7 separate regions of the Homo sapiens genome follow, and all the other regions are linked to region 1. The links are contacts of gene promoters, found by promoter capture Hi-C in blood cells and fetal thymus (Javierre and others, 2016). All regions are on one chromosome and are shown on one strand. The core of a region is centred on a gene start or on the middle of the fragment in contact, and the rest is flanking DNA. Distances in the headings are between cores, read along the strand shown.

Region 1 (3,854 bases), core at 612-3,111:
ATTACATAACTAACCTATGAAAATTTACCTTCACAATAATTGATGTAATAAGTCGTTCAGTGGCAGGTTAAATTTGGAAAGTTAATAACAGTAATAACAATGTTATTATTATTAGAGACAGAGTCTCGTATTATTGCCCAGGCTGGAGTGCAGTGGTATGATCATACCTCACTGTACCTCAAACTCCTGGGCTCAAGGGATCCTCCCACCTCAGCCTCCTGAATAGCTGGGACACAGGTGCACACCACCAGGCTCTGGAAATTTTTGTAGTTTATTTTGCAGAGGCAGGGCCTTGCTATGTTGCCCAGGCTGGTCTCGAACTTCCAGCCTCAAGCAATCCTCCCACCTCGGCATTCCAAAGTGTTGGGATTACAAGTGTGGGCTACTGGGCCCAGCCATTAATTATTATTTTGCCCAGCTTTCAAACCAAGATGGTAGCTACTCATTCTTTTCTGTTAAATGCAAATGGTTAAGAATATCAATCTCCATTACAGGTTTCTGACCAAATTTTCTCAACACACTACAACACTGTTTTAAAAGATTTAAAGTTGCTCATTACAGATTTGGCATTATAATATTTATTTCAGAACAAACTTTAAACCCCAGTAGATCCCACTCGCTTCTGAAATGACTATTTTTGACAATCCTTGAACACTGAGGCTTTCTTGAGCATGACTTTTTACCCTGCCTAGATGGAAAAACCATTCTTTGAAGCAGCTCCTCAAAATTTGGACTTAGCTGCTTCCTCACCTGATGTGCGAGTACAATTGCCTAAGAGTATAATCCAAAAACGACTTGCTGAAACTCATAGATGATTCATGTCTCTATTCTGTCCTGCTCCTCCTCAAACGAGCCAGATCTTAGAGGCGTTTGTTTTCCCCAGATACAAAGAAAATAAAATGAGGTTGGCACCTGGAAGAGGCAGTGCCGTCCGCAAAGCCAAAGCAATGTAACCACTTGTACCTTAACTCTTCTCCGTTTTCTCCCCTTTTCTTCCCCTGGAATCTGCTTCTCTCCTTTCTTTCTCTTTTTCCGCTTTCTGTCCTTGTGTTTGTCATGATCGTTTTTGTCTTCGAAGAGGCTGGAGTCGTGCCCCGAGCTGCCCGTGGAGAGTTCGGTGACTTCGTTCCCTCCTACTTTGAGGACCAGCTTCAAGGGCTTCTCTACATACTCTTAAAAAAAGAAAAGAAAAGAAAGGAAAGCGCGTCGATTAAAATCGGGGCTCTCCAGGGAGTGCTAAGGATGCAGAGCGCCAAGGCGCAGCAAGCCCGAGGCGGCTTTGGGCGCTCCGCGAAGCACCTGTTGAATGACGGACCCCGGCCCGGGGGTGCGGCGGCGCCGCCCGCCCCGAACGCTCCCAGGCCTCCCGGGCCCGCCTCACGTCTCCCCACCAGAGACCCACCGGACCAGGGGGACCCGGGTTCGAATGCCGCGGCCGCACGGGGGGCAGCGCGGCCTCCGGCAGGACGCGCCCCCTTCGCCGGCCTGGGCCTGCCGTGGGAAGGAAGGGCCCCGGGCCGCCCCGGAGCCACTGGGAAAGAGCGGAAGCCCGGCAGAGCCGCCGAGGGCCCGCCGCCCGCACCCCGGCCCCCTCCTCACCCTCGTAGAGGTGTTTGTCCGACTTGTGCTTCTTGTGCTTCTTGCCCATGTCCGACCGGGCCCCGGTGCCCGCCCCCCGCGCCAGGCCCAGGCCGTGCGGCGCCGCTTCCGGTCCGGGCCAGGCGAGCGGAGGGCGGGAGCGGGGCCCGCGAGACCCCGCGCCGCGAGGCAGGGGGGCGGCGCGCGCCGGGCGGCGCGATGCCCCTCTCGAGAAGACGGCGCGCGAGACCCGGCCGGAGCCCGAGAGCGGCGGCGGGGGGGGCGCGCGGCCGGCGCAGAGGCGGGAAAGAAGGCCCGCCGCGCGCACAGGGTGCCGGCGGCTGCGGGTGGCGGCCCCTGGCGACCGGAGGTGGTGCTGCAGCTCGCGGGCCGGGGGCGGGGCCGAGGGCGGGGCCGGGGCGGGATCCACCGCTCAGACTCTCGTCTTTCTTCCTTCCTCCCTTTCCCCTCAATTTGTCTGTCTTGTCTCTGTCTCTGTGTGTCTCTCCCTCCGTCTCCACTTCCCTCCCTTCTTTTTACTCCCTCCCTCTCTTTCTTTCTCTTTCCCTTCTTCCCTTCCTTCCTCCTTCCTTCCTTTCTTTCTTCCCTCCTTACTGCCTCCCTTCAAGCCTTCCTTCTCTCTTTTCTTCCTCCCTCATCACCCTTCCTTCTCCTCTTCCCGTCTCCTTCCCTCTTTTTTTCTTTTCTTTTTTTCCCCTTCCTCCTTCCCCCACTCTTCCTTTCTTTCCACTTTCCCTTGCTTCTGTTTCTTCCCTTTTACGATATTGACTGAACCCCATACTGGGTGCCAGACCCAGCAAACTCAGCACATTGGTGACTGAAGATTCTAATCTTAAAAAAAACTTATGTGCTGATAGGTGAAGGTTACCAGACGTTTTGACTGTCTTTACTTCTAGCTGTATGGTGCTTTGTCTGTTTTCAGATAAGCTCGTAATTATAGTCTCCTCTTAAGAAAGGATCTGTTATCAGTCATTTATACTTTAGTAACAATTTAGACCCATGAATCACCTCTCCCAGGAAGATTTGTAGCTTTACCTTGAACTTCAGTGGTGAAATTATAGGCTTATATTTTAGGACCCTATTGTTGGCAACTAATAGAAACCAATTTGAATTATTTCAAGTAAATAAAAAGGGATTTATTGGTTTACATGTCTAGAAAGGGCAAGAATAAAGCTTGCCAGAGGGAAGACAGGAACCAAGGATGTAATGCTGTTGACTGGCATGCCAGCTCGCTCTCTCTCTTGTCTCTCTGTATATCGGTCTCCATCTCCCCCCTTCTTTCCTATATGGCTGGAAACATGGCCACCATCTGCTTCTGAGGCCTCTTCTTTATAGTGTCCTGACCAACTGGGAAAAAGATCTCTTCCTGTCAGCTTCACCTGGAAAACAGTCCCAGGGAAGGACTCTGATTGGCTTGGCTTGTGTCACATGTTTTATGGGACAGGGGATGGGAGATTGATTCGGCCTGGATGCCAAATCTACCCCCTCACCCCCTTGGCCAAGAGAAGTGGAGTCTGTGATTGGCAGCTCCTGCCAGACTTCTATGGTTAGCCAGGGAAGATGAGGTTCTTCTAATGAAGAGAGTTGCTTTTTCATGAAAGCTAAAAGTGTGTGTCTATTATTTCCCTGTAACAAGCCTCTCTGGTGTCCGTGAGGCAGAGATCAGGGTGTGGGAAGAGGGGTTGTGTTGGGGAAGAGACCTTCTGCTGCTCTGAAATCAAGCCAGCTAGGCCCCCTAGGCCCCCTAAGCATAGGGCAAAGCTTGGTTTCAGCTTTTCATCCACTGTCTGTAACTTATTTTGCTTTAAGAACCACTATGCCAACTCCCACTGTGGGTCTGGCCTCTATTGTGGCATTGCCTTGCTCCAGGCTCAACCTGTGGGTTTACCTGTCTGCTCCTCATTACCCTGGGTACCTCCTTGGTACTTACAGTGCCTAGCACAGTGACTACTACTGTCCAAATGCCCCTCAGAGGAAAAAGGTCTGGTGAACTCATCCATACTATCAAGTTAGTAATTTCCCTACCCTCTCAAGAGTGATTCTACATAGGTCACAAAGTGGTCACATCAATGGAAAGTGAATAAGAGTACGTAGCAGAAAACACCTCCCAGAAAAATGTTCCTGGAAGTGGAAGCCCAAATTCATCTAGTTTTAAATTCTCAGCACTAATACCATGCCTGGCACATAGAAGGCACCAGAAAATGCTAGTTGAGCTGCACGGTCCTGGTTCGGGCAGACTCCCCTGAGAGATTTCT
Region 2 (3,854 bases), core at 858-3,357, 400 kb after region 1:
AGGGAAATCATTAGTTTAGTATTATAATTTAAGATTGAGATACCTGAACTATGAAGTTGGCTTATGTATAATTGATTGTTTTTCTCAGTTGGCTGTAGAATAAATACTTGAAGTGCTTTCTCCCACACACACACTCTAGAGCTGTATTTCCTTCTGTCTATTTTTTCCACATCTCAATTTGGTTTGAAATGTAAATTATCTTGGGTTCTACAGTAGCACTTAAAAAGCAAAGCAAAGAAAAAAACCACCCTTTCTATTTTTCCTGGAATATAACCTGACAAGGAATTCTTCATTAGTAGTATTTATCTTAAAAACATTTACGGTTTTGTTTTATTAAAATATTGGTGGAGGATTGAGATAATTAAAATTAGTTACATGAATATCTTGGGCGTCACTTGTCAGGCACACTTTGATCTTCTAAATCAGTAGTTATCATTGTCATTATTGCTGGCTCAGAGCAGTGAAGAGAAAGAAAAAGAATGATATTTTTTTTTCTTTTAAAGCTTGATTTTCATAAACCCTCAATAGGAGATAATTAAGAATGATACCAGCATTTATAACATAATACATAAATTACACTTATTTGTCAACAAAATAAAGCTTGCAAATAGACTTTAAAAACTAAAGTTGTTTAAATGAAAATTAATTTAGTTTACTTAAATGAGTCTTCATCTGCCTTTCATGTCATCATTAGGACTCTTTTCTTGAGGGGAAAAAAAAGTCAAAGTGTCTCCTTTAGTTCCTTAGTTTCTTTTTCTTGCCCAATTACCTTCATCCGTGAAACAAAATTAATATTTACAGCATTTAAAAAAGAAAAAAGATTCTTTTCAGAGCAGTTGAATGGCTGGGAAGCTTAGGAAAGAATTCTTTCTAGTCAATTGCTTGTAATAGTTGGCTTCTGAAGGATACCTTTGATTGAAAGATGCAGGAATCTTAAACCTGTTATAAAATTGTTTCTCTCTTATATTTCTGTTCTAAATGGTTAAAAACACTGCTAACATATCTAATTTGACATTATGTTCATGTTCTTGAAGTTGTTATGATGAAGCATATCAATTAGCACCACCCCAAAATTATACATTTCGGTTTTTCTAGTTCAACCTGTGTCTTCTGTTCTAGTTGTGGGGGTTGGGAGTATAATGCTGTTTTTTTGACGATCTCTACGATCAAGATAGTGAACATATCCATCACCCCAAAATATGTCCCTTGGGATCCCTCCCTCTGCCTCTTCCTGTCCTCTCAACCCCCTACATTCAGACAACCACTGGTCTTCTTTACATCAGTATACACTTGTTCACATTTTTAAGGATTTTACAAAAGTGGAATAACTCAGAATGCATTCTTTTTTGTCTGGCTTATTTCACTCGACATAATTATTTTTTATTCATCCATGTTGTCCTTTTTATTGTTGATATGGTTATATTAGTTTCTATATCCATTCACTTGTTGATGGACACTTGAGTTTTTTTCAGTTTTTGGCTATTATGAATAATGCTGCTATGAAAATTTGTGTACGAATCTTTGTATGGACATATGCCTTCATTTCACTTGGGTACTTACCTAGATGTGGAATGGCTGGTAATATCATAGGTGACTGTTAACTTAAATAAAACCCCCAAACCTTCCAAGCTGTGTTTCCAAAGTGGTTGCATTATTTTACATTCCCAGAAGCAGTATATGAGAGATACAGTTCTTCCATATCTTTGCCAACACTTGGTATGATCAGTTTTTTAAATTTTAGTAACATCTAATTGTGGTTTTACTCTGCGCTTCATTGGTGACCAGTGATATCAAACATCTTTCCATGTGCATATTTGTCATCTGTATATCTTCTTTGGTTTAGTATCTGTGAAAGTCTTTGGCCGATTATTAATTGTTTCTTTATGATTGGGTTTTGAGAGTTATTTATAAATTTTGAATACAAACCCTTTTGCAGATATATGCTTTACAGCATTTCAGATTATTATAGATTCACATGCAGAGAGAGGGACCCTGTGTGCCCTTTAGCCAATTTTTCCCAGCGGTAACATTAACATGTTGTAAAACAAGACGTGTGCAACATCACAACCAGAATGTTGACCCTGATACAATCAAGAAGCAGAACATTCCCATCCCACAAAGATCTCTTATCTTGCCCTTTTACTGCCGCACAAATTCCCTCTTCCTCCTGCCCCATCCTTAACCTCTGACAACCACTCATCTGCTGTCGATTTCTGTAATTCAGTCATTTCAAGAATGTTACATAAATGGAGTTGTACAGTATGTAACCTTTTGAGACTGGCTCTTTTTTCACTGAGCATAATTCTCTGGAGATTTATCTACATTATTTTATATATATCCATGGATTGTTCCTGTTTATTCCTGAGTAATATTCCATATTATGGATGTATCAGTTTGTTTAACTGTTTAGCTGTTGAAGGACATCTGGTTTGTTTCCAGTTTTTGGCTATTATGAATAATGCTTTTATAAATATTTGTGTGTAGTTTCCTGAGTGCACATAAATCTTTATTTCTTGACATAATTGTCCAAGTGCGTATTCGGTGATATTTGCAAATTTAGTTTCTTAAGAAACCGCTAAACTGTTTTCCAGAGTGACTGTACTCTTACTTTACCACTGGCAATATATGGGTAATCTGGTTTCTCTGTATCCTTTCCAGCATTTGATGTTGTCCCTATTTTTAATTTTAGCCATTCAGAGAGATTTGTAGTTGTATTTCACTGTGATTTTGATTTGAATTTACCTGATGGCTGCTGATGTTGAACATCGTTCCGTGTACTCACTGTCATCTGTATATATTCTTTTTCTTTCTTTCTTTTTTTTTTTTTTGAGATGGAGTCTTGCTCTGTTCACCCAGGCTGGAGTATAGTGGCGTGATCTCGGCTCACTGTAACCTCCACCTCCTGGGTTCAAGTGATTCTCCTGCCTCAGCCTCCCAAGTAGCTGGGATTACAGGTGTGCGCCCCCGAGCCCAGCTAATTTTTGTGTTCTTAGTAGAGAGAGGGTTTCACCATGTTGGCCAGGCTGGTCTCGAACTCCTGACCTCAAGTGATCCACCTGCCTCGGCTTCCCAAAGTGCTGGGATTACAGGCATGAGCCCCTGCACCCAGCCTTCGTATATATTCTTGAGTGAAAGGTGTCCTCATCTCTTTTGCCCAGGTTCTCATTGGATCCTGTGCTTTTTTACTGTTGAGTTTTGAGAAGTCTTTATGTATTCTAGATACTAATTCTTTGTTCAATATATGGTTTGCACATTTTATTTCCCAATGTGTAGCTTGTCTTTTCATCCTCTTAATAGGGTCTTTCACAGAGTACAAGATTTTTATTTTTATGAAGTCCAATTTATAGTTTTTCTTGTGTGGGTCAAGCTTTTGTGTCAAGTTCGACAACTTTTGTTTAGCTCTACATATGGAAGATTTTCTCCTAAGTTTTTAAAAATTGAAATGTAATATGTTGTGCAACCCTCACCACTATCCAGTTCCAGAACATTTTCATGGGAACCCAGTACCCATTAAGCAGTTACTTCCCATTGTCTCTTACCCTGAGACCCTGACAACCACTGATCTGCTTTCTATCTCTACAGATTTGCCTATTCTGGACATTTCACATAAATAGAATAAAAGATATGTGGCTTTTGTGTCTGGCTTCTTCAGTTAAGCATAATCTTTTCAAGGTTCATCCGTATGATAGCAAAATCAGTACTCTAACCTTCTTTATGGTTGAATAATATTCCAATAAATGGATCTGCCGTATTTTGTTTAGCCATTTTTCAGTCGATGGACGTCAGTTTCTAGTTTTTGACTATTATTAAAAATGCTGCTGTGAACATTCATATACAAGTTATTCTGTGGACAT
Region 3 (3,854 bases), core at 865-3,364, 380 kb after region 1:
GGTGATATGCGTCTATAATACCAGTTACTCGGGAGGCTGAGGTAGGAGGATCACTTGAGCCTGGAAGGTCTTGGCCACAGTGAACTGTGATTGTGCCACTGCAGTCCAGCATGGGCAACAAGAGTGAGACCCTGTCTCAAAACAAATAAATAAAAATAAATTAAAAAAAGTTAGAATATGTATATAAGGGTAATCTTTAAAAGTTTTTACTAGAATCTGATTTTATAAATTTCAGTGTCTTGGAAGCAAACATTGTGTTGTCTTTGAAAGTACTTTACAATTGGATTTCATTAATTAAATATGCACAGTTACAGTAGATAAAAGTAATACAGTATGTATGTCTTTTAGCCCTTTTAGATATTTTTTGAAAATATTTCATTTGTGTGTATGTGTTTACTGGTCAAATGAAAATTTTAAAAGTCTTCAGTCTTAATTTTCAGTCATGTAGAATGAAGTCTAAAGTTTATTTTTGCTTTTTCACTAGGCATTTTGATTTCCTTTCTTTTTACAGCATGGACACCACGTTGCTGAAAACATGCTTTGGGACTGCCACTGAATTTATCTTTTGCGGTTTTATGACAAAGTTATTAGTAGTTTCCCTTTTTTGAATTAGTATTTTGAAGTTAATATCACAATGAGTTCAGGCTTATGGAGCCAAGAAAAAGTCACTTCACCCTACTGGGAAGAGCGGATTTTTTACTTGCTTCTTCAAGAATGCAGCGTTACAGACAAACAAACACAAAAGCTCCTTAAAGTACCGAAGGGAAGTATAGGACAGTATATTCAAGATCGTTCTGTGGGGCATTCAAGGATTCCTTCTGCAAAAGGCAAGAAAAATCAGATTGGATTAAAAATTCTAGAGCAACCTCATGCAGTTCTCTTTGTTGATGAAAAGGATGTTGTAGAGATAAATGAAAAGTTCACAGAGTTACTTTTGGCAATTACCAATTGTGAGGAGAGGTTCAGCCTGTTTAAAAACAGAAACAGACTAAGTAAAGGCCTCCAAATAGACGTGGGCTGTCCTGTGAAAGTACAGCTGAGATCTGGGGAAGAAAAATTTCCTGGAGTTGTACGCTTCAGAGGACCCCTGTTAGCAGAGAGGACAGTCTCCGGAATATTCTTTGGAGTTGAATTGCTGGTAAGTTTGATAAACCATTTTAGTAGTGTGTTTGTTTGTGTTCATGTGTGTCTGTGTATTTGTATGCACATACATATTTTTCTCCTTAAATACGAAATAAATTTTCCCAAGAGTCTTCTGTAATTTTTAATATTCATCATCCTTGCTGATGAATCCATGTTGTGGTTGAATCCATAATCCAAAACTTGCTTATAGTTGTCACTGATAATATGTGTGAAAATCACCTTGGCGTTTATTTCTGTTGGAAAGAGACCCAAGAACTCTGTGATATGTTTCCAAGCTTAATATTCATTCTTGAGAACTTAAATGTCAATTATATTTTGACATTCTTGCAAATAGAATTGTATGCCTTCTTTGCTTCTTGATTTAATTTCTTTTGTTTACTTTTTAATGATGAATTGCGAAGATGTAAAGATGATGTCGAAACTTAAAAAACTATGTACTATGGTAGGAACATACAAAGAGATTCACCTGGCTATTGCAGACATATATATTTTAGAAATTTTAACATTGCCTGTATTAAACATGAACGCTACCAGTTGTAAATAGTTACATAAAAAATTGTTAATTACCTTGCGTTATCATCTATAGGTTTCTTAGTTCTTCTTAATGTATGTTATTAAATAACAATTTAGATATAAGATTTTTGAAAAAAAAGTTGCAGAAATTTAAACTTGCTTATAATTGTCCCCGATAATATATGTGAAAATCCTTAGAATTTATTTCTACCGGAAGGAGACCCAAGAATGCTGTGATATGTTTCCAAACTTAATATTCATTCACAAGAACTGAAATGCCAATTACATTTTGACACTCTTGCCAATAGAATTGCATGTCTTCTTTGCTTCTTGATTTAATTTTTTTTAAAAGCAGTGATTGTAAACAATTAGGAATTTGAATCCCAGTTAAGCCATTTACTAGCTGGGTTGCCAGGTTACTTAACAAAGCTACTTAACTTCTCTCATTCTGCATCCTTACCTGTACAATGGTGTTAATAGTACATGACTTGTAGTGTTTTTGTGGTACATTGATGCAGGATTTAAGCACAGTGACTGACAATAAGTGCTTAATGAATGGAGCTAACATTACTGCTATTTTAAAGTAACATTTTCTTTTTATAACCAAATTAATGTTAGAATCACAACGTGGAATTCAGCCTAGCTTTCTCATGATAGAGTTATGAATTGAAATTATCAGATAATATTATTTCAGCATCAGATACAACTTCTTATTTTTTAAAACACTCTAAATCCAACAGAAACTGCTAATAATTGTATTTCTTATTATATGTATCATTTAGAAATTTTCCAGAGTGATTTTCCTGAAATCCCTAGAGTGAACCCCTTTTCCTATGGATCGTCTTTCTATATCTATTTCTTTCCCTTCTCTCTTAAAAACTAGGAAGAAGGTCGTGGTCAAGGTTTCACTGACGGGGTGTACCAAGGGAAACAGCTTTTTCAGTGTGATGAAGATTGTGGCGTGTTTGTTGCATTGGACAAGCTAGAACTCATAGAAGATGATGACACTGCATTGGAAAGTGATTACGCAGGTCCTGGGGACACAATGCAGGTCGAACTTCCTCCTTTGGAAATAAACTCCAGAGTTTCTTTGAAGGTTGGAGAAACAATAGAATCTGGAACAGTTATATTCTGTGATGTTTTGCCAGGAAAAGAAAGCTTAGGATATTTTGTTGGTGTGGACATGGTAAGAAAATTTTGGATTAAATATCTTTGTGATATATATATTAGTTTATATATATATGTATATATATATATAAACATATATATACACACATATATATACACACATATATATGTATAGTTTATATATATATGTATTAGTTTTAGGACCAATTTACTTGCAAATTGAACACTTTGAATATTTAACATGATCTAATTTGGAGTACTTTAAAGAACATGTTCTAATTTATCTTTGGTAAAGGAGCATTGAAATAGAACAGGGGTCTAGATACAGATTACATTTACTTTTTTTTCCCATTTGAATAAACTAGAATAATGTTCTCTATCTTTAAATTTGCCTTATTGTAGCTGACCAGTAGACAAAACAAAACAAGACAAAACACAATTATATTACTTGAAGTCCTATTTTTCTTTATTTTGAAACAGTTTTTTGGGGTACTCCATTTTTTTGTGATATTCTACACAATTTAATGGCTGATCTGATTTTAATAATTAGTATAATAATCATTTATAGAAAATACCTGAGTAGAGGAAAACCACATTGATTTTGAGGAATAGACAATCAGAATATCTCATAGGATTTCATTCATTTTAAAAACCTTTTTTAATTGTGGTAAAATATACATAACAAAATTTATCACTTAAGCATTTTTAAGTGTGCATACAGTGGCATTAAGTGTATTCACATTGTTGTACTGTCACCTGTTCATCTCCAGAACTTTTTCATCATCCCAAACCGAAACTCTGTGCCTGTTTTAACAGTAACTGCCCACTTTCCCCAACCTCTGCTAACCACAATTTCTTCTGATTTCTCTGTCTGAATTTGCCGGTTCTAGGCTCCTCATAAGAGTGGAATCATACAACATTTGACCTTTTGTTTGTGTCACTTATTTTTAATGTTTCCTTACAATCATACTTTTTAATAATGGATCCATTCCAGTGTGGTTCATTGGATTATACCTGTGGCACTGAAAGAATAAGAAGAGAAAGGCTGAGACCATTTTTATCATATATTG
Region 4 (3,854 bases), core at 813-3,312, 370 kb before region 1:
ATCAAACGTTAAGCAGTCGAAACAGTGATTAAGTAAACACAGAAGCAAGATTATAACTGTGGTGACAGGCAGGGAAGTGGAGGCAGGTGGATAACGGTGCATCAGAAGGTTCACTCTGATCCAAACCTTTATCCATATTAACTCATTTAACCACCAAAAAGTCCTACAGGTACGTTCTGTTATTATCCCCATTTTAGGGATGAGAAAACAGATGCACAAGGAGGTAAAGTGCCTTGCCCTGGGTCACACAGCTCAGCAGTGGTCCAACCAGATTCACATCTAGGTCTGACTCCAGAAGCCGGGTATAATCCCCAAATTCACTGCCTCCATAAATATTGAAGGAGGTTAGGAATGGAGGCAGCCACATTCTCCCAAGGGCTGACCCAGATGGCACCAGCCTACACGTGGGGAGCACGTGCCAAGATGGGAAATCAAGCGGACAAGCCCGCAGGCCGCAGGGGAGGCCGGAGGGACCCTGAGCAGCTGCTGGATCTCCCTGAGTTCTGGGGTCAACATGCCCGTTTCTCATCTAGGGAAACTGAGGCCCACAAGGAGTAGGAAAACTGAGGATCTGAGGTGCCCCTGGGCCTCCCCAAACTCCCCCTTTGTGAGGTGGTAGGGGTGCAGGGGCTGCAGAAGTCAAGGCTGCAGTGAGCTAGGATTGCCTCACTACTCCAGCCTGGGTGACAGAGTAAGACCCTGTCTCAAAAAAAAAAAAAAAGAAGCCAGATGTGGTGGTTATTCATGCCTGTAATCCCAGCACTTTGGGAGGCCGAGGCGGGTGGATCACCTGAGGTCAGGAGTTCGAGACCAGCCTGGCCAACATGGCAAAACCCTATCTCTACCAAAAATACAGAATTCAGCTGGGCATGGGGGCAGGTGCCTGTATTCCCAGCTACACAGGAGGCTGAGGCAGAAGAATTGCTTGAACCTGGGAGGCAGAGGTTGCAGTGAATCGAGATCATGCCATTGGACTCCAGCCTGGGCAATAAGAGTGAAACTCCATCTCAAAGAAAAAAAAGAGAGAGAGAGAGAGAGAAAGACATTTGTGTGCCAGAAATTGTTCAAAACATTGGGGGTATGGCGGAGAGGATAAAATTTCTGTGGTCATCAGCTTACATTCTAGTATGAGAAGACAACAATGAAACAACACAGCTTATCACCCACAGCTGAGATTCATTTTACATCATTTCTCAGTACACACACAGACACAGACACATCAGTATAAAACTGAAACTCAAGTTTTACAAAACAATGCTTACCTCATAGCCTGTCAGCTCCTCAAAAGACCATCAAAAAACCAAAAAACAAGCCATCAAGCAAAGCTAACTTTGTTAGATGTTCTGCAGTCATGGAGACCACCATCTTGACAATCTTCATAGTATTTTAGAAAGGGGAAGGCGAGGAAAGGAAATGTATATTATTGGGATCTGGGCTCAAGTGGTTCAAAGAAGGTCTTTCAAGACAGAAATTGATTGGGATTGGGCACATTTCATGACATGATACTTTAGGATTGGTGAACACATCAAGGCAAGGGTCTTAAAACCAGTCTCAATCAGTGAAACTGCTGTTTGATAGGCAAGCTGTTTTCCCAGATGAGCAATCTGTTACCCAGATGGGAGAGCTCGTTCAGCAAACTGTCCAGATAAATTGGCTTGGATGAATTCCCTAAAGCAAAAGAATCAGTTCTTACTGGTTTACAGCCTTATCTTACTACACACAGCATCATTTTTGCTGTATTCTATAGATCCAAGCAATAGCAAAGAGAACCCTCATTCAAGAGAAGGGGTCTTAGACCCTGTGATATAAGGAATGTTAAAGAATTTACAGCCATCTTAAATTCTCCATGCTGGGATTACTTGGAAAATAAGGAGTTCCTTCTTCTGAGCTAAAGAAAGAAGAGGAACCAAGGAGAAGCAGGCAGCATGGATTGGCTGGTTATATCCAGTGGAACTTTCCTTCCAGCACAGAGAACTACATGTGACTTCTCCTGCCCTTGCCAGTCTCACCTTTGGGTCTCAAGATTGGGTCTAGTCTTCCTAGACACTTTCTTTCTCCTTTCTTGGGAACCACATCATAAGGTGAATTAGGCTGTTCCTTGGGTCTATGATTATAGCAATTTTCAGAAAAGTTTTTAAGGAAGGCTTTTTCCCATGTTCTTGTCTCTGAAAGGGTGTTCCACTTGTTCAGGATATGGAATGGGGAATAATGAGGTGACCAGCCTACAAAGCTGGAAACATACATAGCAATCATTTTTTCCTTTGAACATTGACTATTGAATGAGCCATATATAACCACCTATTAATATCATACCCAGAAATAAGCAACAAAATTCATAAATCTAGAAAAAAAAGTTAACAAAAGCAATTATTGGCCAGGCACTGTAGCTCACATCTGTAATCCCAGCACTTTGGGAGGTCAAGCCAGGAAGATCACTTGAGGCCAAGAGCTTGAGACCAATCTGGGCAACATATTAAGACCCTGTCTCTACAAAAAATTAAAAAATTAGCCAAATGTGGTGATGTGCACCTGTAGTCCCAGCTACTTGAGAGGCTGAGACAGGAGGATCGCTTAAGCCCAGGAGTTCAAGGCTGCAGTGAACTATGATTGCACCACTGCACTCCAGCCTGGGTGACAGGGTGAAACCCTATCTCTTAAAAAAAATTATCTCCTTCTTTATATTCAAGTAAATGAGCAAAGAATGGAGAGCAGAGTAACTAGACTATATCAAAGAAGATTTAAAAGGCAAAAAAAAGAAAAGCAAGGTGAGGTTTTGATTTGGAATTTGGAGCAGAAGCTGTCTATTTCGCATGTCATCTACTTGATCTCATAGTCTCGTGTAGCTGTTTTTCTTCCTGTTACTGTCTGTTTCTAAAGGACTCTGAGCATCTTCCAATGGCTGTCTAATTGGCAGAGGATGAAACTCTGTGTTATTCCAGCTGAGAGACATGAATCCAGGAATGGGTACCCTGGAACTTCACCACTGCGCCAGTGCTCAAAGTACCTGGTGGGTCAAGGTGGCACAGAACAGTTTCTCCCTGCTCCTCCCCTCAAAGCAAAACTATAAACCCTGGAAGCAATGCAAAAGGCAACCAAGAGAGAACTCTGAAAGACAGTAAGAAGAAGGCAAACTGGTCTGGGTCCCCAAGACTGGAAGAACAACAAAGCAGGAGGGCATCTTATGTTCCCCCCAAACCCAATCCAGACCTGGCATTTCCCAACCCACACTGTTGTTACAGAAACCAGCCCAGATATGGTCATTTCTCCCCCAAATTGAACAGGACCTCTGACAACATCAGGGTAGTCCAACACTACCAGCAGGGGGACAGATTGGAAGTCCCACCAACACTAAGCAGCCAGGGTGAGCATTAGCTGGGCCCAAGAGTCCTCTCCCCTGCCAAGAGGTGCCAAAGCAGACAGGAGGAACTGGCAGGAGGCACCCAGCCACAAGGAGCAAGCAGACTGCTACAGGAGCCTCTTTGTCCCCGTAGAACTAAGACTCCATTCCCCCATATCTGGGCAAGAACTGTAAGAGGGACGTGGCCAGGACGAGCAGCCTGGCTCTGGGAGCCTCTTTGACCCTGTGAGCCTGATACTCCCCTCCCCTGACTGGAAGAAGCACTGAAGCAGCTGGAGGGCACTGGTGGGAAGATCCCAGCATGACAAACACCTAGTTCAGGAAATACTCTCCATCCCCAATACAAGGCGCCAGCCAGGAGAGCCTCTTTGTCCCATGGGCCTGAGACTCCCCTCTTCCACCTGCTCAGGCAGCATGAGCAGAGACCAGCAGGAGCCCCAGAGGCACAGAAAACAAAGCAGGCCTCTAAGACACTGAAAATTAAACTGTCATTGGA
Region 5 (3,854 bases), core at 869-3,368, 360 kb after region 1:
CTCTTATTGCCTTAAAAAGAATCACTGGCCTTGGGGAGTCTGTGGCTGGCTGGGTGCAGTGTTGTGGACTCTCTCTGCAGAGTCATGGAGCCTTGTTCAGAATGCTTCCTGAGCTGCCCTGGTTGGCCAAGGGTAAAAACAGCCCTGACTTCCCTGCAAGAAACACTGCAGCTGGGCCAGAGAGTCAGCCCATCCCAGGCATGGGTTTAAAAAGTGGAGGCTTTTGTTTGAAAGCCCTGCTCTAATTTTGTCCTCACTCAAACCTCTGTTCACTTGATCTGCTTTAGGCTCCGAGGGAACACTTTCTCTCTAGAGGAGGTTGACAAGCTCGGCTGCAGGGACACCAGACTCTTGCTTTGAAGTCTCCGGGAGGATGTTCGTCTCAGTTTGTTTGTGAGCAGGCTGTGAGTTTGGGCCCCAGAGGCTGGGTGACATGTGTTGGCAGCCTCTTCAAAATGAGCCCTGTCCTGCCTAAGGCTGAACTTGTTTTCTGGGAACACCATAGGTCACCTTTATTCTGGCAGAGGAGGGAGCATCAGTGCCCTCCAGGATAGACTTTTCCCAAGCCTACTTTTGCCATTGACTTCTTCCCAAGATTCAATCCCAGGATGTACAAGGACAGCCCCTCCTCCATAGTATGGGACTGGCCTCTGCTGATCCTCCCAGGCTTCCGTGTGGGTCAGTGGGGCCCATGGATGTGCTTGTTAACTGAGTGCCTTTTGGTGGAGAGGCCCGGCCTCTCACAAAAGACCCCTTACCACTGCTCTGATGAAGAGGAGTACACAGAACACATAATTCAGGAAGCAGCTTTCCCCATGTCTCGACTCATCCATCCAGGCCATTCCCCGTCTCTGGTTCCTCCCCTCCTCCTGGACTCCTGCACACGCTCCTTCCTCTGAGGCTGAAATTCAGAATATTAGTGACCTCAGCTTTGATATTTCACTTACAGCACCCCCAACCCTGGCACCCAGGGTGGGAAGGGCTACACCTTAGCCTGCCCTCCTTTCCGGTGTTTAAGACATTTTTGGAAGGGGACACGTGACAGCCGTTTGTTCCCCAAGACATTCTAGGTTTGCAAGAAAAATATGACCACACTCCAGCTGGGATCACATGTGGACTTTTATTTCCAGTGAAATCAGTTACTCTTCAGTTAAGCCTTTGGAAACAGCTCGACTTTAAAAAGCTCCAAATGCAGCTTTAAAAAATTAATCTGGGCCAGAATTTCAAACGGCCTCACTAGGCTTCTGGTTGATGCCTGTGAACTGAACTCTGACAACAGACTTCTGAAATAGACCCACAAGAGGCAGTTCCATTTCATTTGTGCCAGAATGCTTTAGGATGTACAGTTATGGATTGAAAGTTTACAGGAAAAAAAATTAGGCCGTTCCTTCAAAGCAAATGTCTTCCTGGATTATTCAAAATGATGTATGTTGAAGCCTTTGTAAATTGTCAGATGCTGTGCAAATGTTATTATTTTAAACATTATGATGTGTGAAAACTGGTTAATATTTATAGGTCACTTTGTTTTACTGTCTTAAGTTTATACTCTTATAGACAACATGGCCGTGAACTTTATGCTGTAAATAATCAGAGGGGAATAAACTGTTGAGTCAAAACAGCCATCTTCCTTGTGACCAAACATTTAAAAATATTCTGGCTGGGCACAGTGGCTCACGCCTGTAATCCCAGCACTTTGGGAGGCCGAGGTGGGCAGATCACCTGAGGTTGGGGGTTTGAGACCAACCTGACCAACATGGAGAAACCCTGTCTCTACTAAAAATAGTGGAGGTTGCAGTGAGCCAAGATCACACCGTTGTCCTCCAGCCTGGGCAACAAGAGTGGAACTCCATCTCAAATAAATAAAGAAAATAAAAAATAAAAATATTACTAAAACTTGTCAAATTTTAAAGCACAATTTTCTACTTGAAGCGGAGGAAAATGATGTTTTCAACCCGATAATGTATAGCTTAAGGCAAAAGCAATTCTTAGAAAATAGCCAGGCAATCAAAACACTTTTGGCTTCAGTTTAGAAAAGTTTAACCCCGTGAAGTTTTCAGCTGTGCAGGAGCCTCCCCGTACCCAGCCTAAAAGGCTGCAACACATGTGAAAAGGCCCCTTGGCCCCCCTCGATTCCCTCAAAGTGGCTCCAGGAGTCTTTAACAGAAGGATGGAGAAGGTTTACTTATGGCTGGCTCTCCACAGCGAGCAGCCTCTCATGCAGGCCTTGTGTTAAAATAGTGCTTAGCTGCGTTTAATAAGCAAGGGATCAGGTGGTCACCCAGCAAGGTAAAATCCTACTTCCTTGAAAGGTTTTGCGTCTGGCTGACTCGGTGGTGTGGCATCTCCCTGGACCCTGCATGGGAGTGTGTCTATGGGTTTTCTTTGTGATTGGTGCCCTGTTCTGCCCAGACCATTGTTTCTGATACAGCAGATCAGGAGGAAGGTGGTGTTGAGTCTCCTTTCGCTGAGGAGTACACACAGCAGCCCATTTGCATAGCACTGTATTGGGTTGTCAGTTTGTCATCTTTAAATTCATTCAGCAATGAGGCCAGGCATGGTGGCTCATGCCTGTAATCTCAGCACTTTGGGAGGCTGAGGCAGCTGGATCACTTGAGGTCAGAAGTTCAAGACCAGCCTGGCCAACATGGCAAAACCCTGTCTCTAAAAATAGAAGAAGAAAAAAAAAAGTTAGCTGGGTGTGGCAGCGCACGCCTGTAATCCCAGCTACTTGGGAAGCAGAGGCAGGAGAATCGCTTGAATCTTGGAGGAGGAGGTTGCAGTGAGCTGAGATCATGCCACTGCACTCCAGCCTGGGCGACACAGCGAGACTGTCATAAATAAATAAATAAATAAATTCAGCAATGATTTATTAACCAGTTATATTAGGATGACCAGTGGATTGACAAAACAGACATGGTCCTCAAGGTGCTTAGGTGAGGGTGGAGGGAGAGGCAGGCAGAAAACAAGTCAGTTGAAAAAGACATGAAAAAGTCTTCATCCAGGCACTGTGGCTCATGCCTGTAATCTCAGCACTTTGGGAGGCCAAGGTGGGCAGATCACTTGCGGTCGGGAGTTCGAGACCAGCCTGGCCAACATGGTGAAACCCTGTCTCTACTAAAAATACAAAAATTAGCCGGGCATGGTAGCAGGTGCCTGTAATCCCAGCTACTTGGGAGGTTGAAGCAGGAGAACTGCTTGAACCCGGGAGGCAGAGGTTGCAGTGAGCTGAGATCACACTACTGCACTCTAGCCTGGGCAACAGAGCAAGACTCCGTATCAAAAAAAAAAAAAAAAAAGTCTTCAGGCTGTTAAGGGGCTGGTCCGAGACAGGTTGTCTGAGGAGGTGCCAGGTAAGCTGTGTCCCCAAGAATGAGAAAGATATGGCCAAGCAAAGAGTGAGAGGGAAGAAGGGAGCATTCTAGTAATGGGGGACAAGAGGTACAAAGACCCTGGTGAGGGAAGGAGCGTGGTATGCATGGTAGGCTCAATAGTCACTCCCGAACATATGTAGATCCTAATCCCCGGGACCTGGGAATGTTGCCTTACCTGGCAAAAGGGACTTTGGAGGTGGGATTCAGTTAAGGGTCTTGAGATGGGAAGATCATCTTGGATTACCTGGGTGGGTCTTAAATGCAATCGCAGTTTCCTTATAAGAGAAATTTAAAGGACAATGTAAAGCAAAGGGAAATATGACACTGGAGAAGAAAGAAATGTGATCACCAAGTAAGATGCTACACTGCTGGCTCTGAAGGTGGAGGAAGGCGCCATGAGCCAAGGATTGCAGCTCTAGAAGCCAAAGAAGACCAAGAAATAGATTCTCCCCTAGAACCTCTGCAAGCAGCATAGCCCTGCCT
Region 6 (3,854 bases), core at 726-3,225, 360 kb before region 1:
AAAAAGTGAAAGAAGTTAAGATACATTTTGAAGAATGGATTTGCTGATGGAAATGGGGAGAAAGGAAGGGCATGTATAACTCCTAAATTTTTGGCTTAAGCAACTGAATGGGTAATACAAACATTGATTTTTTGATAGAGAAGGGGTCTCACTATATTGCCCAGGCTGGTCGTGAACTCCTGGGTTCAAGCAATCCTCCTGCCTCAGCCTCACAAAGTGCTGGGATTACAGGTATGAACCACCAACTCCAGGCCAAAAATATTAATAATAATAGCTAATATTTATATAGCACTTGTGGGTGTAGGCCAGGCACTTTTCTAAACACTTTGCAGACACTATCCATTCAATCCTCACAGTCATCCTATGAGAAAGCTTCTCTTGCTATTTCACTCCACAGAGGAAGAACTGAAGCACAGGAGGGTTGCGTAACTTGCCTGAGATCACACAGCTGTCAACTGGCACAGCACTGATCAGCTGCAAAGACACCACAGTGGAAGAGTGACAACACCAGATGTGTGGAGCTCCGCCTGCTGTGGACACACCTGGACAGAGCACTTCAGCCTTGGCAGGGTCTCCTGGGATTTCCAGTCCCCACCTCCCCTGACCTCCTCAGGAAGGTGTGCACACCAATGAGAGGTCATGAAGAGAAGGGGTGTTATGTAAAACGAGTCCCAGAAAGCCACAAGGCCAGGCTGCGCCCTCTCTGAGCAGCTAATTCCTCCAAGAGTACCCAGACTTAGCTTCTTTCACTTTGCTTTAACCTAGGAAAGTTGTTAAATATTTATTATGGGACATCAGTGTGCTTTTTCATGGGGGTAAATATACACAACCTTAAAATACATATATAGCATAATTTCAACATTTTAGCCATTTTTACACATGCAATTCAGTGGTACATGTACATTCACAGTGCTGCGCAACCATTAAGTTTCATTCTCTGAACGCACACCTTGAGTTCCTGATATGTGTCAGGCATGGTTATAGTCACTGAGGAAAGCAAAATAGGTCTTTGCCCTAATGCAGCTCACATTCTAGTTGGAGAGACAGACAATAAACATGGAAGAAATATCAATAAATACAATTGTCACATATTGACAGGTGCTAGAAAGAAAACAGAACAGGGTAATTATGACCATATGTATGGAGCACTTTCTATGTTCCAGCAGTGATCCAAGGGCTTGGCAAGAATTATCTCACAGGATCCCTTCTGCAGTTCTTTGAGGACAGCACCTGCCTCAGTCACGGGTAAGAAAGTAAAGCACAGAGAGCTTCAAACTGCACAGCGAGTAAGCAGGATGCAGTGGTCCAGATGGTGATGGCAGAGGAATACTTATGGCTGGGGGAGGGGTGTAATCCCAGCACTTTGGGAGGCTGAGGTGGGTGGATCACTTGAGGTCATGAGTTCAAGACCAACCTGGCCAACAAGGTGAAACCCCATCTCTACTAAAAATACAAAAATGAGCCGGGCATGGTGGCACGTGCCTGTAATCCCAGCTACTCAGGAAGCTGAGACAGGAGAATCGCTTGAACCCAGGAGGTGGAGGTTGCAGCGAGCCAAGATTGCACCACTGCACTTCTGACTGGCAACAGAGCAAGACTCTGTCTCAAAAAAAAAAAGAAAAAAAGAGAGAGAGAGAGAAAGAGAAAAAGAGAAGTACTTAAGCTGGAGTGATCCAAGTCCTCTTTGCAGAAAGGGCATTGAGCTGAAGCCTGACATTGCAAGAGCAAGCCAGGGCAGGAGAGTTCCAGTGAGAAGAGGTAGCAAATGCAAAAATCCTAAAACAAGCATGGCTCTTTGAAGGATCCAATGGGGCTGGAGCCAAGTAAGCCTGGGAGAGTGCGGGGAGTGAGGGTAGAGGTGGGATGTGGGTGGGGGAGACCTGTGAGAAGCATCTGCAGAGGTAGGCAATGTCCAAGCCTACAGGGTCTTGTGTAGGGCGCCCAACTGTCGTGGTTTGCCTGGGACAAGTTGGTCACCCTACAAGGTGGAATATTCCTCAGATTTTATTTTAAGTGCAAAGGAAAGCAATGAGGAGGTGTTAGATAAGGAGGGACAGGCCCTCTCTGGTTACTGTACCAAGGAGGACCAGAAGGAGAGCAAGAGGTGAAGCAGGGAGATAGCGATGAGACGCTTGCAACCTTCCAGGCAACTGTGTTGATGGCCAGGACTTGGGTGACCATGGTAAGGGTGAGAGATGACTGGATTTGGGATCCATTCTGGAAGTAAGGTGACAGAGCTGATGGATTGGGTAATGGATGTGAGATTAAGAAGGGGACTCAAGGATGATCCCCAGTTCTTGCCTGAGCAAATAGTGGGTGGACACGGGGCCATTTACTAAAATGGTGACCATGGATAAAGAGCAGGTCTGGGGAGAATCAACTTGAGCCCCATGTCCTCTAAGAAGCCTCCTCTGACCCCCAGACTGAGGAAGAAGGGAGGGAGACTCTCGAGGGCAAGAATTCCCAGTTGTCCTGCTTCAAGACCTGGTCCTCCTTCCCTCCCCTGCTTCACCATCGCCCTTAACCCCAGTCTACAGAAGAAAGGCCCACCTCTCGCCCCGCTGAGTTACAATGGGGCGGTGCCCAGGTGCATGGAAGACAGCACTGGCTGCAGGAACAAGAAGGACATCTTATTCAAAATAAGGACACGCTTGAAGTCTCCTCAAACCATGAGCAATAAATCCATCCTGCACTCTTGGCTTTCTTGTCCTGTTTAGATTCTCAGTTAAGAGTGAAGCACTGGCTGGACATGGTGGCTCATGCCTGTAATCCCAGCACTTTGGGAGGTCATGGCAAAGATGGCCGGAGCCCAGGAGTTTGAGACCAGCCTGGGCAACAAAGGCAGGCCCCGTCTCTACAGATAATTTAGAAATTAGCCAGGTGTGGTGGCACCCGCCTGTGGTCCCAGCCACTTGGGAGCCTGAGGCAAGAGAATCCCTTGAGCCCAGGAGGCTGAGGCTGAAGTGAGCTGTGATCGCACCACTAAATTCACTAAATTCCAGTCTGGGTGACAGAATGCGACCCTGTCTGAAGAAAAACGTCTGGTGTGGTGACTCATGCCTGTAATCCCAGCACATTGGGAGGCCAAGGCAGGCGGATCACCTGAGGTCAGGAGTTGGAGACCAGCCTGGCCAACATGGCGAAACCCCATCTCTACTAAAAATACAAAAATAAGCTGGGCATGGTGGCGTGTGCCTGTAATCCCAGCTACTTGGGAGGCTGAGGCAGGAGAATCGCTTGAACCTGGGAGATGGAGGTCACAGTGAGCCAAGATTGAACCACTGCCCTCCAGCCTGGGTGACAGAGTGAGACTCTGTCTAAAAAAAAAAAAAAATGAGTAAAGCATTGCTTTGAATACAAACAATTTTTACAAACATGTTGAGTTTTCACAGGGATTTGCATTGAAAAGTGAAGTAAAGTTTCTGAGAGAAATTAAGTCTGATTTTACTGATCAGTTTGACAATAAGAACTGGCTTTGTGCATTAAAGAAAACGGTGAATAGTGTCTCCAAATCAAATGAACTAAATTGACTCCTTTGAGGTTTTGATGAAAATATATTTAAGATATGTGATAAGATAAAAAGCTTTTCTATTTTTCAAAAAACATTAGCAAAGATGTATCTTATATCACCAATATTACAATTTCCCCAATTGTTTCTGAGCCTATTGGGCTAAACAAGTTGTCTCTAAGTGAAGAAAGAATAGGTAACATTTGTTGCAATTTGACACATTTTAGTAAAGCCTTTTTGATACATTTTCCAGAAACTGAGGGTGTAAGAGAGTCTGACCAAGTAAGAAACCTTTAGCAAGGCCAGGCGCGGTGGCTCAGGCCTGAAATCCCAGCACTTTGGGAGG
Region 7 (3,854 bases), core at 897-3,396, 340 kb before region 1:
TACTAATTTGTGCTTTAATTTCAAACTCAGGGCTTTTTTTTATTAGAGAAGTAGTTAGTCTCCAATTTTTTAGTGAAGTTTCTTTCCCCCAGTGCAGTTTTATTTAGGGAGTAATGATGTAATTTTCACAAATCTTAAAAATCCCCTCCCCGCTTTAAGCTGCAATTAAGTAGACTACTTTCAGTAGCTCTATTTGTACCTTTTAGGTTTTACAGAAGAAAAGCCTAAGAGAAGGCTTTTGTCATCAGTCTCCATGGCAATTCAGACAGCCAGAGAAGTTTATTTCGCATATAGTCTCCCTAACTTTATCTGCTGAGGTGGAGATATTTAAAAGGATAGGAAGCAAGGGGAGATTGGTGATGGAATTTTATGTTAATAGAGGATTTTTATGGCAGACAGGAAACTCTCTTGTGTGTTCATTTATAAAAATCTGATCTTAAGGCTGCACTTGGTAGTCATCTTTAGGGGAAGAGTGGAAAGAGGCTGGCAAGAAGATTGAAAAAGATCCATCTTGGGAAATGAGTCTGACTTCTAATTGGGAAAAATATAAGCTGATCTCAGCTAGTTGAGATCTTAATAAAACACAGAATTAAATGTAATTTGAAATAGGCCCAAAACTATGTAGTTAATATAATTTTCTAAATTAGGTGAGAATATAACTATTCGCCTAAGGGTTGGCTCTTTATATTTCAGTATTTAATAACCCCAAACCTGACAGGAGTTTTAACCAGCAATTGTATCTGTAGCAAGAGTTGCAAACTCAGGAGCAGTGGCTAGGTAGAAGAACCTAGGGAGAGAAAGAATATGGCAGACAGGAAGTACCTGACTGCCTGGCCTGGAGAGAACTGCTGTTTCAATGCATTGGAGTGTTGCCATGGAGGGAGGAAGGCTGAAACTGATGGCCTAATTAAAATGAAGACATAAAGCACTGTATATGCTAACCTGGTGCAGGCCACACACAACAGAGCTGGCTTATGAGAAACTCCTCGGAGGTTTGAAGAAGACGTTCTTCTGGAATATTAACTTTTCCTTGGGTCATCATCTTTCTGGGAGCTTCTTTCCTGGTATTTTCAGCCTCTCATTTCTTCATCTGACAAACTTCTGTAACCAGTACCATGCTGAGCCATCTACCTGGTGCTTCTGTCTTGAAACACGTGCCTGCGCGTCTCCTGCTGTGAGAGTGGAGTGGGGATGTGCTTAACTTGATTCTCTTGCTCCCATCTAGTTACTAATCCACTTGATTTCTTTCTACACAGGCTCTAAATGCTTGTCTTCTCTGTGTCTCCAGTCAACGTTTCCATTTCGGTGCCTATTCTTATTCCAGTCATGGATCCTGGACCCTTGTCCCTCTACATATTCTTAGACTTGTGGATTGTCCTGTTTTCTGCTATCATTTGATATGTCCAGATCTGAAATCAGCCCTTTCTTTCTCCTTCGTTCTAGTTCTTTATGGATAGCTACTAATCGTTTTTCCCTACTTGAATGTCCTGTGGTCATTTAGATCTCAGTAGCTTCAAAACCAAATTTGTTTTTTGCCTCTGCAGGGAGGAAGGGGTGATGCTGGAATTGAGTGTTATGAGGATATGTAAGAGTTAGCCAGGTGGAGGGAGAGAGGTGAACAAGGCAGCATATGTGTGGAAATATGGCAGGAGATGAAAATTAGACTGGGATCAGGTTATGAATGGCAGAGTTTGCTCAACTCTTTTAAGGAAGCTTTTTAACAGTAAAGGTAGGCTGAGCGTGGTGGTTCACGCCTGTAATCCCAGCACTTTGGGAGGCCGAGGCGGGCAGATCACCTGAGGTCAAGAGTTCAAGACCAGCCTGGCCAACATAGTGAAACCCCGTCTCTACTAAAAGTACAAAAATTAGCCGGGTGTGGTGGTGGGCGCCTGTAATCCCAGCTACTTGGGAGGGTGAGGCAGGAGAATTGCTTGAATCCTGGAGGTGGAGGTTGCAGTGACCTGAGAATGTGTCATTGCACTCCAGCCTGGGTGACAAGAGTGAAACTCTGTCTCAAAAAAAAAAAAAACAGGGAAGGTAACTAAATCAAGTTTGATTTGTGTTTTCATTGAGACCAGAGGCCTCATCTTCACTCATTCAATGCAGAGTTCAGTAAATATTTTTGATAGGGTTGTTTTTTGATTATAGGAATGAATTTGTAATAGTTCAAGTATTTGAAATGAATGGAGGGAATACTGCTATATTTATCTTGCTTTATAGAAGATAGCCTATACATTTTTATTTTTACAACGCAGCAATACAGAGAACTAAGATTATTAGAAGTCTTCAAATCCTCATGGTTTATATGATAAAAAATATTATATATATTTATGTACAAGTGGGGAGGTAGGAATCAGCCATCCTAAGATTTTTAACATTTTTATATTTTCATCTCTTCTTTTACAGGTGTCCTTCTTCACATCATTATGGAATCACCCATTTTTCACCATTAGCTGTATCACTCTAATAGGCTTGTTCTTTGCTGGAATACACAAGAGAGTAGTTGCACCATCAATGTATCCTTTACCAAGGATTAAATTCCATTCTCTGAAGTGCTTTGTTGATCTAGGTAATGGTTAAAAGCTTACTCTTGCCGGGCGTGGTGGCTCACGCCTGTAATCCCAGCACTTTGGGAGGCTGAGGTGGGTGGATTTCCTGAGCTCAGGAGTTTGAGACCAGCCTGGGCAACATGGTGAAACCCCATCTCTACTAAAATACAAAAAATTAGCCAGGTGTGGTGGTCTGTGCCTGTAGTCCCAGCTACTCGGGAGGCTGAGGTGGGAGAATCGCTTGAACCCGGGAGGCAGAGGTTGCAGTGAGCTGAAATCACGCCACTGCACTCCAGCCTGGGCGACAGAGCAAGACTGCGTCTCAAAAAAAAAAAAAAGAGTACGCTTTGTGTTTTTTTTTTGAGACAGAGTCTTGCTCTGTCGCCCAGGCTGGAGTGCAGTGGCGCGATCTCGGATTAGCCAGGATGGTCTCGATCTCCTGACCTTGTGATCCGACCGCCTCGGCCTCCCAAAGTGCTGGGATTACAGGCTTGAGCCACCGCACCCGGCCTAAAAGCATACTCTTGAAATGAGAAATTTTCCTTTGACCACATGTATTCAGTATAGCTGCTCGATGTCGAACGGTATTAGCAGAATACAATATGTCTTGTGATGATGTAAGTATTTTTTTGGTTAGAAAATTATAGACCTGCATGAAAACACTGAAATTTTTGGCTTTAGAAAGGTAGACATTTTATTAGCAATAAATTTTCTCTGTGGAATGAATAGTGAGAATATACTTAGAGCATTGATTCTAAGGTACTTTTACATTTAACATCTTTGGCATTGAGATCCATCTTACAGTCAATGAGATCTGACAAATTGGGAGAGTTGACAATTTAATCTTTCTTAATGACATAAAATCATGATGCATCTTATAACTGATGCATCTTAGATTCAGTGAAGTACAGTGGTTGTTTGTTATTGACCAAAAATGGCTCAGCGGATATTGGTTTTATAAACTACTGTTATTTATCAAGTGATATGCTATATATGTTATTTGTAAATATAGAGTCATAGATTAATTTGTGGACTATGGACATATGAACCTATTGTGTTTTTAAAAGTAGATGATGGGAGACTGGGCATGGTGGCTCATGCCTCTAATCCCAGCATTTTGGGAAGCTGAGGCAGGAGGATCTCTTGAGTCCAGGAGTTTGAGACCAGCCTGGGCAACATTAGCAAGACCCCATCTCTACAAAAAAATGTAAAAATTAGCCAGGCAGGTGGTGCACACCTGTAGTCCCAGCTGCTTGGGAGGCTGAGGCAGGAGGATTGCTTGAGCCCAGGAATTTGAGGCTGCAG

What was found. Contacts are between HindIII fragments. The CHiCAGO score rates a contact against its expected background, and 5 or more counts as called.
Region 2: a fragment that was not itself captured here is called in contact with the fragment with the promoter of BRD7 in region 1 in 16 of 17 cell types (total CD4 T cells, non-activated CD4 T cells, activated CD4 T cells and 13 more); the score reaches 61.6 in total CD4 T cells.
Region 3: a contact is called between a fragment that was not itself captured here and the fragment with the promoter of BRD7 in region 1, in 17 of 17 cell types (activated CD4 T cells, naive CD4 T cells, naive CD8 T cells and 14 more). The highest score is 68.0, in activated CD4 T cells.
Region 4: a contact is called between a fragment that was not itself captured here and the fragment with the promoter of BRD7 in region 1, in 2 of 17 cell types (neutrophils and monocytes). The highest score is 10.9, in neutrophils.
Region 5: a contact is called between a fragment that was not itself captured here and the fragment with the promoter of BRD7 in region 1, in 16 of 17 cell types (naive CD8 T cells, naive CD4 T cells, total CD8 T cells and 13 more). The highest score is 56.3, in naive CD8 T cells.
Region 6: a contact is called between a fragment that was not itself captured here and the fragment with the promoter of BRD7 in region 1, in 16 of 17 cell types (neutrophils, monocytes, M2 macrophages and 13 more). The highest score is 34.2, in neutrophils.
Region 7: a fragment that was not itself captured here is called in contact with the fragment with the promoter of BRD7 in region 1 in 13 of 17 cell types (neutrophils, naive CD8 T cells, activated CD4 T cells and 10 more); the score reaches 21.1 in neutrophils.

The regions. Positions count from the first base shown.
Region 1 is chr16:50,367,127-50,370,980 of GRCh38, forward strand. It overlaps BRD7 (bromodomain containing 7), which reads right to left and starts at 1,862. Exons shown (of 17, transcript NM_013263.5): 1 at 1,600-1,862; 2 at 964-1,172. The coding sequence starts at 1,648. RefSeq lists silencers at 1,251-1,760, 1,791-2,040. The HindIII fragment of the contact is 8,339 bases long and covers 1-2,770 here.
Region 2 is chr16:50,767,640-50,771,493 of GRCh38, forward strand. All of the region lies in intron 5 of CYLD (CYLD lysine 63 deubiquitinase), which reads left to right. Among named protein-coding and RNA genes, the nearest start is that of CYLD-AS1, 27 kb to the left of the region's middle. The HindIII fragment of the contact is 2,515 bases long and covers 851-3,365 here.
Region 3 is chr16:50,749,065-50,752,918 of GRCh38, forward strand. CYLD (CYLD lysine 63 deubiquitinase) reads left to right here. Exons shown (of 19, transcript NM_001378743.1): 3 at 512-1,138; 4 at 2,540-2,842. The coding sequence starts at 635. Among named protein-coding and RNA genes, the nearest start is that of CYLD-AS1, 8.2 kb to the left of the region's middle. The HindIII fragment of the contact is 1,396 bases long and covers 1,417-2,812 here.
Region 4 is chr16:49,992,597-49,996,450 of GRCh38, forward strand. No RefSeq gene overlaps it. Among named protein-coding and RNA genes, the nearest start is that of CNEP1R1, 31 kb to the right of the region's middle. The HindIII fragment of the contact is 5,462 bases long and covers 1-3,854 here.
Region 5 is chr16:50,731,460-50,735,313 of GRCh38, forward strand. NOD2 (nucleotide binding oligomerization domain containing 2) reads left to right here. Exons shown (of 12, transcript NM_001370466.1): 12 at 288-1,616. The coding sequence ends at 360. CYLD-AS1 (CYLD antisense RNA 1) reads right to left here. Exons shown (of 7, transcript NR_184279.1): 4 at 759-901. Among named protein-coding and RNA genes, the nearest start is that of CYLD, 8.7 kb to the right of the region's middle. RefSeq lists a silencer at 2,059-2,353. The HindIII fragment of the contact is 5,332 bases long and covers 1-3,854 here.
Region 6 is chr16:50,011,436-50,015,289 of GRCh38, forward strand. No RefSeq gene overlaps it. Among named protein-coding and RNA genes, the nearest start is that of CNEP1R1, 12 kb to the right of the region's middle. The HindIII fragment of the contact is 3,211 bases long and covers 371-3,581 here.
Region 7 is chr16:50,030,991-50,034,844 of GRCh38, forward strand. CNEP1R1 (CTD nuclear envelope phosphatase 1 regulatory subunit 1) reads left to right here. Exons shown (of 6, transcript NM_001281789.2): 4 at 2,407-2,516; 5 at 3,112-3,166. Among named protein-coding and RNA genes, the nearest start is that of CNEP1R1, 7.7 kb to the left of the region's middle. The HindIII fragment of the contact is 870 bases long and covers 1,712-2,581 here.